2 separate regions of the Homo sapiens genome follow, and region 1 is linked to region 2. Evidence: promoter capture Hi-C in 16 types of primary human blood cells and fetal thymus (Javierre and others, 2016). All regions are on one chromosome and are shown on one strand. Each heading gives the region's core, a stretch centred on a gene start or on the middle of the fragment in contact. The rest is flanking DNA. Distances are from core to core; before and after follow the strand shown. Region 1 has its middle 9.1 kb from the start of PTCHD1. Region 2 holds the start of DDX53 (DEAD-box helicase 53).

What was found. Contacts are between HindIII fragments. The CHiCAGO score rates a contact against its expected background, and 5 or more counts as called.
Region 1: a fragment that was not itself captured here is called in contact with the fragment with the promoter of DDX53 in region 2 in 1 of 17 cell types (megakaryocytes); the score reaches 5.5 in megakaryocytes.

What each region holds. Positions count from the first base shown.
Region 1 is chrX:23,323,069-23,328,496 of GRCh38, reverse strand. No RefSeq gene overlaps it. Among named protein-coding and RNA genes, the nearest start is that of PTCHD1, 9.1 kb to the left of the region's middle. The HindIII fragment of the contact is 451 bases long and covers 2,284-2,734 here.
Region 2 is chrX:22,996,425-23,001,748 of GRCh38, reverse strand. It overlaps DDX53 (DEAD-box helicase 53), which reads right to left and starts at 1,789. Exons shown (of 1, transcript NM_182699.4): 1 at 1-1,789. The coding sequence starts at 1,691. All of the region lies in intron 3 of PTCHD1-AS (PTCHD1 and PHEX antisense RNA), which reads left to right. The HindIII fragment of the contact is 5,370 bases long and covers 1-3,978 here.

The DNA of each region.
Region 1 (5,428 bases), core at 1,260-3,759, 330 kb before region 2:
GCTCACGCATCCAATAAACCTCTGATTGCCACAACAAACATTGATTAATTTAACTCTATTAACTCTGAGCGATTTTATTTGAATTATTTCAGTGAGCAAGTTCCTACTGTGCTTGGCAACTAGGAGAAATTGAGCAAAGAATTCCCTGCTCTCAAGAAATCTGTAGTCTAATATGGTTGAATGAAAATACAGAGGATTAAAATATGAACTTATATAAGGTAAATTTCAGAGAAGTCCTGTTCCATCAGTGTGTGGGATTCATAGAAATCATAAATGATATCTGGCTGGTCCCTGGTCTTAGAATACCTTTAGCCCTAGAGTTAGCATCTTGCTTGCTGTTTTGAGCTTCTTTGTTGTCTGATGTTTCATATATATATCTATATATATTATATATTTTTCCTATTCTCTTAGCAATGTTTTAATTTCCTACAGGCCAAGAACCTTACCTTTTGATTTCACCTTCAGAACTTTGGTGCTAGGATTGAGCACAGAGCAGGCTTGAGTAAATGCATGTTAGTGGCTTATTAGAGTAAAATACACAAATCACTCAAGGAAGATAAGGATGCTGCCACATTCAGACAAATTATTTTTAAAATCATTTTGTTAGAACCAATGATCAGTTATTTTTTAAAAAGTAGTTCACAATTCTGATTTCACATAGTCAAATATTTGTTAGTCCACATGAGAAATTCGAGCTGTAAATAAGATGGATGGGGAGTGCTTATTTAAGAGAAACCCTTTAAATTGGATGTGCATATTTTAATATGCAAAGGAATGTTGCTAACTATAAATGAGTATCTTTTTGCTAAACTGTGCTGAATGGGATACTGGTTCAGACACATTTTACAAGGAACACTTAGAGGCGCTTGGGACATTGAAAGCAGCAAAGTGTATATGCATTTAAAGACTAATCTATAACTCAAGTGGATGGGCACGTAATTGTGTTTCAGCATGCATCAGCCTGCATCCATCAGTGGGCTGGGCTGGTGTCTACTTTCTCTTTCTTCCCTTGGGGTGGTCCTAAAGTTTTAACTTGGTCAAAGAGGATGAGCACTGTATTCTGGAGATGCCTGAGTAATGTCACTTTCTTAATAGCAAACAAGGCACAATTCAGGATTTTCATTAAGTCGCGCTAGTTTCCCCTCTACTGCATCTATATGAGGAGAGTTTAGGTACATTGCTCACTTTCAGCACCAGGGACAGATCTGATATAACCTAGCTACCCCTACCCTTTCCAACTTCCATCACTTGTAAGTTGGTTTTAGAAACATTTTAGAGCTAAAGAGGTTCTATAAAGTAATATAATACAGGAGTTGATCATCTTTTTCTAAGCCAGGCCAATTAAGATGAAAATAAATTTAAATTGGTGGGCCACTAATCCAATATGATCATATTTCAAATTGTGTCCATTACTTTTATACCCTTGTGATGTTTGTATGAGGAGGGAGACATTTAAAGAGAAATGTTAGAAATGACTCTAAAATATAATCTCTTGCAGTTAAGGAGTAATCGTGCTGAAAATTTACAGGAATGATAGAAAATGGGAAAAGAATATTTTTATGCATTTCATGTGCCAAGGTTAGCCCTAGGCACTTTCAAGTGTCTAGCCTATATAATTTGCAAAATCACTCTGTGGGCTATTAAGCATTGTCAAACCCATTTTAAAGAGAGGAAATTGAGGATTAAGGAGATTAAATGTCTTGTGCAGGGTTACACCGTAATGGAAGTATAAATAGAGTGCAGGACTATCTGATATCAAAATCCATGTTTTTCCATTCACTCATTCTGCTGTTAAGCAAAAAATTACTTGATTCCATTTCTAAAATGCCTTGACTAGATTTAAAAACGTTCTAATCAGAAAACATAATATGCCATGAATATTATAAACAATTTAATGTTATTTCTGTATTTGCTATTCATTTAATGGTACTGTAAAATGGCAATATTGTGGCCTATCCATTAATCGGGTTTTCAGTGTTTGGATTCATTTCTAATGTTGGTATTCTTCAGAGGAGTTTTGTGGACCAACAAAAATATTGTATGGAACCCAAAGTGTTTGCTAATCTAATCCAACCCACTCTTTTTGCAGATGGCAAAACTTCTGCAGTCCTTGTCTGAATTCTACCAAGAAAAATCCCTCAAAATGTTAAAACGGAAAACTGTCAAGTGGTTCCAAAATACATAACAGAAAAAGGAACTGAATAGACTCTGACCTTATGCATGTTAAAATGTTTCCATTTTTTAGTTGTTCACCAGTAGTCGTGATATTGCTAAGGGAAAGCTTCTTTAATTCTCTTCCTTTACTGTGTAAAGTGAACAGAGACCATTCTAATCACCAGATCCATTGTCTTACGTTTGAACATAGGGGACATAGGAAAGCAGGGGGTTTCCTGATACAACTCTTAGCTTCGGGGCAGTCTTTCTTTGATGTTTATATATTTAATCCTTTTAAAACTCGTACTCCAGAGCATAACCTAAGAACAAAGCACTTCATCCCTTCTGTTATTAGAACTGTGTACTTCTTGCTTTGACTTTTAAAAATGACAGAGCTACAAGGCATTCTGTTCCCCGTGGCTGATCACTTCCTTCTCATAAATGGCATTATGTTGGTGAATTAATTAATAGTAAAATCTGATTTACATATTCACAAATATTAGAATTGTAGAAAAGTTAAATCAGGAGGCAGCTCCAAGGAGAGGCTAAGTGAGGGAAGACCAAAAAAAAAATCAAAGCTTCCTTTTTTAGACAAAGCACAGAACTTGGCATTTCTAGGGCTGCCCTGCTTCCACCTTCAGGCATCTTCTGAATATTGTAAAGGGGATTATTCTGGACATGGAAAGCTCTGTTCTGCCATGGGTTGAAAGGTTTAGCCTCAGGTGAATGCCATTACCTCCTGCAGTGTGCTAAGCAACAGGAACTAAAGTAGTTTGGGTACTGGCCTAGTCATCAACAGATAAGGTCCTTCATCTGCTCTGTTACATCACTGCAGTTAAGATTTCTATCCTTAAAATGAGAATAATGAAGATGATGATTATGCTATCTCCCTCCTAAGCAGGGTTTCAGATGCAAAAGTTGATGATAAATGTAAAATGCTTTGAAACAAACACATACATTATTGGGCCTTCTAGGTCCAGGACGCTTTGCTAAATGCGGAGCATGAAGAGATGTAAAGACCTTGCCTTCAAGGTGTCCACAGTGCAGTGGAGTGTGGCCAACAAGTGAAACAAGAAAGTTGTGTAGTGTGGCAAGGACTTTGTCGTGCTATGCGATCAGTGAGAAGGTTCCTCTAACCTAGCCTGAAAAGCAGAGTCGGGCAGGGTGGGGCGGCGGGGTTGGAAAAGTTTTAAAGAAGATGTGCACAGATGCCATCTGGTGCTCCATCCTTATCCCCTCCCCCCACCCCCAGAAGTTCATTCTAGGTAGTTTCCATTTACACCGAAGTCTTCCTGCCTCTCTCTGTCTGAGCTGTTTCCTGCCCATGAGACACACTAGAAATGCCAGAGAGCTAACACCTCTAGAAATGACCTTAAATTAATGAGGGATAGGATAAATACCCAGGCTTCTTTGCCTTGCAGTGGGACAACTCAGAGATGTGTTTCTCACAGGCTCTCCAAGAATTCCAATGGAGTGGAGCCCTCATTGTCCACAGCAATAACACACTCATGCTCATTAACACACCCTTTATAAACTTTTCTCTCTTCTCTGTCTCCTTTCTCCATTCCGTTACTCTGCTTTCTGGGAATCTTCTCTGAAATAAACCTCTTGCTTCCACATATTTATTTCAGGATCTGTCTTTAGTGGAACCCAACCAAACACAGGAGATGACATCCAAATGGAGTCTCAAAGGTTAGCAGTTAGTTAAGCCTAATAAATGTGCTGGTATGTAAACTATATTTCAGTAAAGCTGTTAAGTAAAAGAGTTAGCTAACCCACCTATGGAGAGAAAGAATATTCCAGGCAGCGGGAATAACATTCGAAATTATAAGGATGGGATAAAGGGCTTAGCTTGTTTTCGGAAATATGAATAGCTCAGGATGGATAGGCAATAGTTTGGAAAAGTATACAGGAACTAGGTTAAAAAGGAACTTATAAGTTCAAATAAAGAGCTGGGTTTTTATTCTGGAGATGACAGGGAGCCATTTCAGGGCTTTAAAGAGTGTTTATGGCCGGGTTTATGTTTGTTTATGTTTTACAAATCTGGTGGCCACATAGGAGGTGGATAAGGGAAAACAAGACTAGAGGCTAAGAGACCAATTAGGAGGTCATGATAATAGCTATGACAAGAAAGGATTAGGGCCTGAAGCAAGGTAGAGGCCAGTGGGATGGAGACAAAGGGAAGAGTTGATATGTTTTTAGGGAGATAGAATTGGCAGGACTTGGATTATTGAAGAATGGAGCTAAGATACTGCATCGTGATTTCTGATGACATAATGTCATTCCAAATAGCCATGCCAAACCATATCCAACCCCAGAAGTATTAGTTTATTTTTTATTTTTACCAAATTCCACTGAAGAACAGAATTTCTTATCAGAGTGAGGAAGGAAAAAAGGTGGACTGTGTTAAGCTCTAGACTATGACAAATAGAGGGTGATTATGATATTTTGGGAATGAGAGCTGGACAATGGGGACCAGCATCCTGGAAAATGGTCTGGAGAGTCCACAAGGTAGAGGCTACGATCCATTAGATGAAATCCACAGTGTAGAGATTCATGTGGGTTAATAAATGTCCTTCCTTCTCAAATAATTGAGTTAGATTTTAGGACCAGTTGCTTGCGTGAGACAACTTCATCTGAAGAAGGAAAGGAGGTAAATCTGGAAGAAGAAGAAGGAGGAGGGGGAGGAAATGATTGGCTTTCGTGGGTGAGAGTCTCTGGAAAACCTCCTGTCTTTGGTTCATCTCAATTCTTTTTATCTTTATAATGCAGAGCTGGGGATTGGGGATTTTCATTCTGATGACCTGCTAGAATCCATCCCTGAAGGTGACCAAACACCATGCACTCCATACACAAGGCCCCTATTATTACCTGATGGCATCTTATACTTCTGTTAGGAAACACACACACACACACACACACACACACACACACACACAAGCTTGCTTGCTTTAATTTACACAGTTAGCAATCACATTGAAGAAAATAGGACCAACATTTTATAGTATTAGACACTCATTCTTTCATTGCCCCGTTGCCAGGGCACTATAAATATGAGACCATTTTAATGACGTATTTTTAGTCCTATTATAAATGATGCTGGTATGAACATTTGTGAATAACATTTTATGTGGACATAAGTCCACATTTCTTTTGGATATATACCTAGGAGTGGAATTGCTGGGTCATTTCATAACTCCATGCTTAACATCTTAAGAAACTGCCAAACTGTTTTCAAAAGTACCTGAACCATCATACATTCCCACTAGCTATG
Region 2 (5,324 bases), core at 540-3,039:
GTCTTTCCTGTCCGTCCAATGTACCCTACTCTGTGTACATATACGTCAATATTCCTTGGGAAATCATAATTATATACATGTGTGACATCATTAAGATCAAGACCTCGGGATACTATATCAGTTGTAATCAGTATCTTTATGTTTCCGCTTTTAAAGTCCTCTACTGCTCGCTCTTGATCACTCTGTTCACTGTTGCCATGTAATGATTCTGCAGATATGCCTTGGATATTGAAGTCGCTTGACAAGTCATCAGCAATATGTTTTTGGCTGACAAACATGATGACTTTGTCGTTGGGTGACATGTTCTCTACGAATTCTTGGGTGAGAGCTCGTTTTTCTTTTTCTGTGGTAACAATTATATTTTGCTTCACTGTATTTACAGCCACTAGATTCAGATTACCAACATAAACAATCATAGGATCTTTCAAATAAGAAAGTGCTAGTTGACGTACAGTATCTGGCCAAGTTGCACTTGTCATAACAGTCTGTCGGTCTGGGCGCACATCTAATAAAATCTTCCTTATCTGGGGTTCAAATTCCATATCCAGCATTTTATCTGCCTCATCTATAACCAAGTAGGTTATGCTTCTTAGGTTGACAGAGTTATTCATTTGTAGGTCATTCAGCCTCCCAGGAGTTGCAATAATGATATCTACACCTTTGCTAATGTCTTCTATTTGTCCATTTCTGTTTCTACCACCATATATGCAAATGCTTTTGAGACCTTTATATGAATACTTTGAACATTCAGCTTCCACGTGAAGAGCCAACTCTCTAGTGGGTGTAAGGACTAGCATCCCAGGCCCATTCCTTTGCTCTCTAGATATTGGTTGAGAATCAAGATGAATAAACCCAGGCATTAGATAGGACAATGTTTTCCCTGTTCCGGTTTGTGCAACTACTATAAGATCTATTCCTTGTAGAATAATTGGCCATGCCTGTGACTGAATTGGCGTTGGCTTTACAATCCCTACCCTTATTATGCTTTTCAGAAGATCAGGGTATTGCTGAAAAGCGTCTTTAAACCTGCAAGTTGGTTTTGGAATGAGACGCTTTTCACCACTTTTCAAGTCATCACACGTTATGTTGAAATTTTCCTTTCTCCAGTTAATCACCTGCATTTCAGACATGCAGCTTGTTGCTTTGGATTCTATGTAAAAGTTTTTCTTAACTGGTGGTAGATCTGCCCATTTTCTCTTTTCGCACTCCACGACTGCTGCCCTAATGCGATCCCAATTTGACAATGGCTCAGCTTCTCCAACAATGTCATTTCTGCCTAGATTTCTTCCAATAGGGGTTTGGGATGCAGCATTATCCACACTGGATTCTGAGTTGTAGCTTTCTTGTTTTCTAATAAGTGTTTCTATAGCCGCTTTGGCCTTTGCTTTCATTTCCCTATTGCCAAAAATTCTGACTTTTGCTTCAGATTCCCCGTTTATGATCTGTATTTTAGTGTTTGTCGAATGTTGTAGATCTTTTATTTTTGATCCACTGTAACCAATGACCACACCAACCATATTGTTCTTTATTTTAAAGCAGAGTGGTGGTTCACGGGAGCCTGCTGCTCTCGGTCCCTGATGGCCGAAGGGGCCACTCCAGCCACTGCCTCTGCTGCCCCTGACATCCCAGCTGGCCCCAAGGTCTCTTGGATTAGCCTCCGCCCTCTTCCACTCTGGGGCCCAGTGGGACATTGTGGGATAGTGGGAGTATCGGCACCGGCTTCTCGCCTACATACGGTTGGAAGTTCAGGTCTGCGGCCTGTTTCCCGTCACCTTCTGCACCAAAAGATGGCGGTGGCAATTATTTCCGGGTGCTAGTCACATAGCTACGCAGAAGTTGCCCCAGAAACCAGTGTTGGCGTCGAATTCCGGGTCGTGTAGGGGGCGAGGCTTTGATGGCCTGACCAATCACAGGGCTTGGACTGGGGTGAGGTAAGCAGGCGTCTGTGACGCAAATTTAAAGAGGCACTCACTCTCACGGGCTGACCCTGCCAGCACTTACAGGACCCTAGGAGTAACTGCCTCCTTAACTTCTGCGTCCCGGGTGCTCCTTTCACTCTTCTCGTGATAGTTCTGGCTCAGCTTGAGAGCAACCTTGAAGCACGCCTTAAACATACACACCATATACACATTGTCCTTTATATAAGCCAGTTATTTCCCTAAGAGAAAAAAATAATGCATTTAAAGTAAAACTATTTATTTATATATTCGTGTGTTCATTTATTTTGGTAAATTTCTTTTGGAGTGAATACAGTACTTTGTCAGGATAAATTCATCATTCCCTGTCCTCTAGTGTAACTTAAATTCTACTAATCAGAAATCTCTTAGGTGCACACTCTAGGACAGCGTTTTGCCTTAATTCATCAACTAAATGTCAACACTTGTTTAGGCAGTTTCCAGATATTATTACAGGGATGATGGTTAGAAGAGAGGTAAAGCAGTGCCTAAGGTACTTTAGGGGCTGTTTTTAGTGGTTTGTCACTTTTCTCAGTGCCTCTTCATTTTTTTTCCTTCCCTGTGGTTTGATAGCTTCTGAGACCTTAGCACTGGAAGGTTGTGTAGAACTCATTTATTAGGTACACGTAGAAGACATTCTAGCTGCAGTCTGGACAGAGGGATATCCAGCTTCCATTTAGACACTCCCAGAGGCAGGGAGCTCACTTCATTTCAAAAATATCCATTCCATTATGAGGCTGTTTAATGGTTACAAAAGTTTTTTGAACCAAAACGTGCGGCTTCCTGTGTCCTTAAGTCCTTCTGAGTTCTGAAGTTATACAGAATAGGCTTGATTCTCCTGTATCCTTGTGTACTAAAGGATCTGTCAAAGTTTTCTTTTTTTTCTTTTTCTTTTCTTTCTTTCTTTTTTTTTTTTTTTTTTTTTGAGATGGGGTTTCACTCTTGTTGGCCAGGCTGGAGTGCAATAGCATGATCTTGGCTCGCTGCAACCTTGGCCTCCCGGGTTCAAGTGATTCTCCTGCCTCAGCCTCCCGAGTATCTGGGATTACAGGTGCCTGCCACCAAGCCTGGCTAATTTTTTGTATTTTTAGTAGAGACAGGGTTTCACCATGTTGGCCAGGCTGGTCTCGAACTCCTGACCTCAGGTGATCCACCCGCCTTGGCCTCCCAAAGTGCTGGGATTACAGGTGTGAGCCACCGCGCCCAGCCTCTGTCAAAGTTTTCTGTGCATCAGGGCAACATTTCCAGTTTCTTCGACGTTTCTTGCTATGACATGGTTTCCAAGACACACATCATCCTATTGCCTCTCCTTTGGAAATGGTTCATTGAGGACCATTTACAATGTAGCACGCAGAACTAAAAAACAGGAAAAGACAAGCAAACAATCTGCAGAAATGGCATTACTCCTACTATTAGGGCATCTTTACTGAGCATGACAATTCTACTAATTTGACCTAAGAACTCCTGAGACACAAAGCTGCTCACAGTAACATGACGTGCATTTAAGTTCTTGCTTCTTTTACTTACTCAGCTGATTTTTTTTTTAATTTGCTTACCTAAATGAAGACTATGTATGTATCCTTTTATAGTCATCTTATTAAGTTTGATCAATTGATGTAACCTATGAAATATAATTTTAATGATTATTCTGTCATCCATCATATTAGTCTCTAGTTTCAAGTCTTCTGCCAATTTAATGTTCATAGCATCTTTGTCTCTTTAGTCAGTCACTGATTAAAATTTCATCATGGTCTAGTATAGGACAGAAGTCTGACACCTTGGGAGAAAACTTCTCTGTGTCAGTACTTTTTGTAAAAGATGCTATTTGAAGAAATAAAAAGGTTTCTGGTCAAATATGTTTGAGAAACACAGCACCCTATATTCTCTCTGTTAAAATCACAATGCTTATTGGATATTTTAGGAGCTATGATATTTACAGACATTGAGAAAAATCAGTTGTTTAATCCAAAGTTCCCCAAACGAATTTGCTAATGGATATCTTCATCAATTATTTAAATAAGCTTTTTATTTGGAATAATTTCAGATTCACAGAACAGTTACGGAGGTAGTGCAGAGAGGTTCCTGTATAGCCTCAGCCAGTTTCAGTTTCCTCTAATCTTATCATATCTCATTATCATGATACATTTGTCAAATATAGGAAAACACTATTGGTGTGTTACCATTAGCTAAATTCCAAACTTTATGCTACCAGTTTTCCATTAATGTATTTTTTCGGTTTCAAGTTCCACTCCAGGACACCATACTGCATTTAGTTATGTACAGTTTGTGAGAGTTTCTCAGTTTTTTCTTATTTTTCATAATCTTTCCAGTTTTGAGGAGTAATGATCAGGAATTTTGTAGAATGTCCTTCAAAAAGGTATGCTTGATGTAACTTCTCATGATTAGACTGGGGTTATGGGCTTTTGGAAGAAAATATCACAGAGATGAAGAGCCTATCTCATCACATCATACTGGGGAGATAGGTACCTGATGTCAACGTGACCCATCATTGGTAAGGTCAACCTCGGTCCCTTGGATAATTTGTGTTATTCAAGTTTTCTACACTGTAAAATTATTATTTCTCCCTTTCCATACTCTATTTTGTGGAATGAGTCACTAAGTCCAGACAACCCTCAAGGGCTCAGTTTGCATTTAAATGCAATCTTTATTATTATTTTTTACAATTAGTAGTGTTCTTTGGAATGTATTTTGGAAACCACTGGTATGGATAAATACAAATTACCTGACCAATTTTTTTTTTTCATCTGGTTGTTGAACCGGATATATTCTGATCAAGTCACATTACAACTCCTCCATACTTCTCCATGAATTGTATTAGGAATTTTAAGGCATTCTCAATGTCTTCTAGTTTATTCATTATTTTAAAAGGAAATTTGTTTAGTTACACGTGGCTTTTACCTCTTGAAGGATGTATTATGTTTCTCTGTCTTTATGCCTTCATCTTTACTTTGAATAATAGTTAATATTACAGAACTGTAGAATTCTACAGGTGTTGGGTACATCAGAGGTCATTTTGTTCTCCCTTATTACAGAGAGTGAAATTGAGGTTCCAAAATCTTTCTGGAATTGACTGAAGGTACTCAGCAAATTATTGAGAGTAAAAATTTAGAACCATTTGTTGACTTGTGGCCAGTCGGGAAAATAGTACAGGACATTACTCCTTTACTACGAAGTGACTTGCTTCTATTCTTATTTTTTGTGGGTGATACAGAAAAATAGAAGAGGCCATGAAAGTGAAGTGAAGAAAAGTCATATTGTTGGGAGAGGGGTAGTTGTAAAATCTGGGTAGAGAGCAGTGCACTTTAAGGTGGAACTCATTGTGGTGAATTACTGTGATGACACAGAACT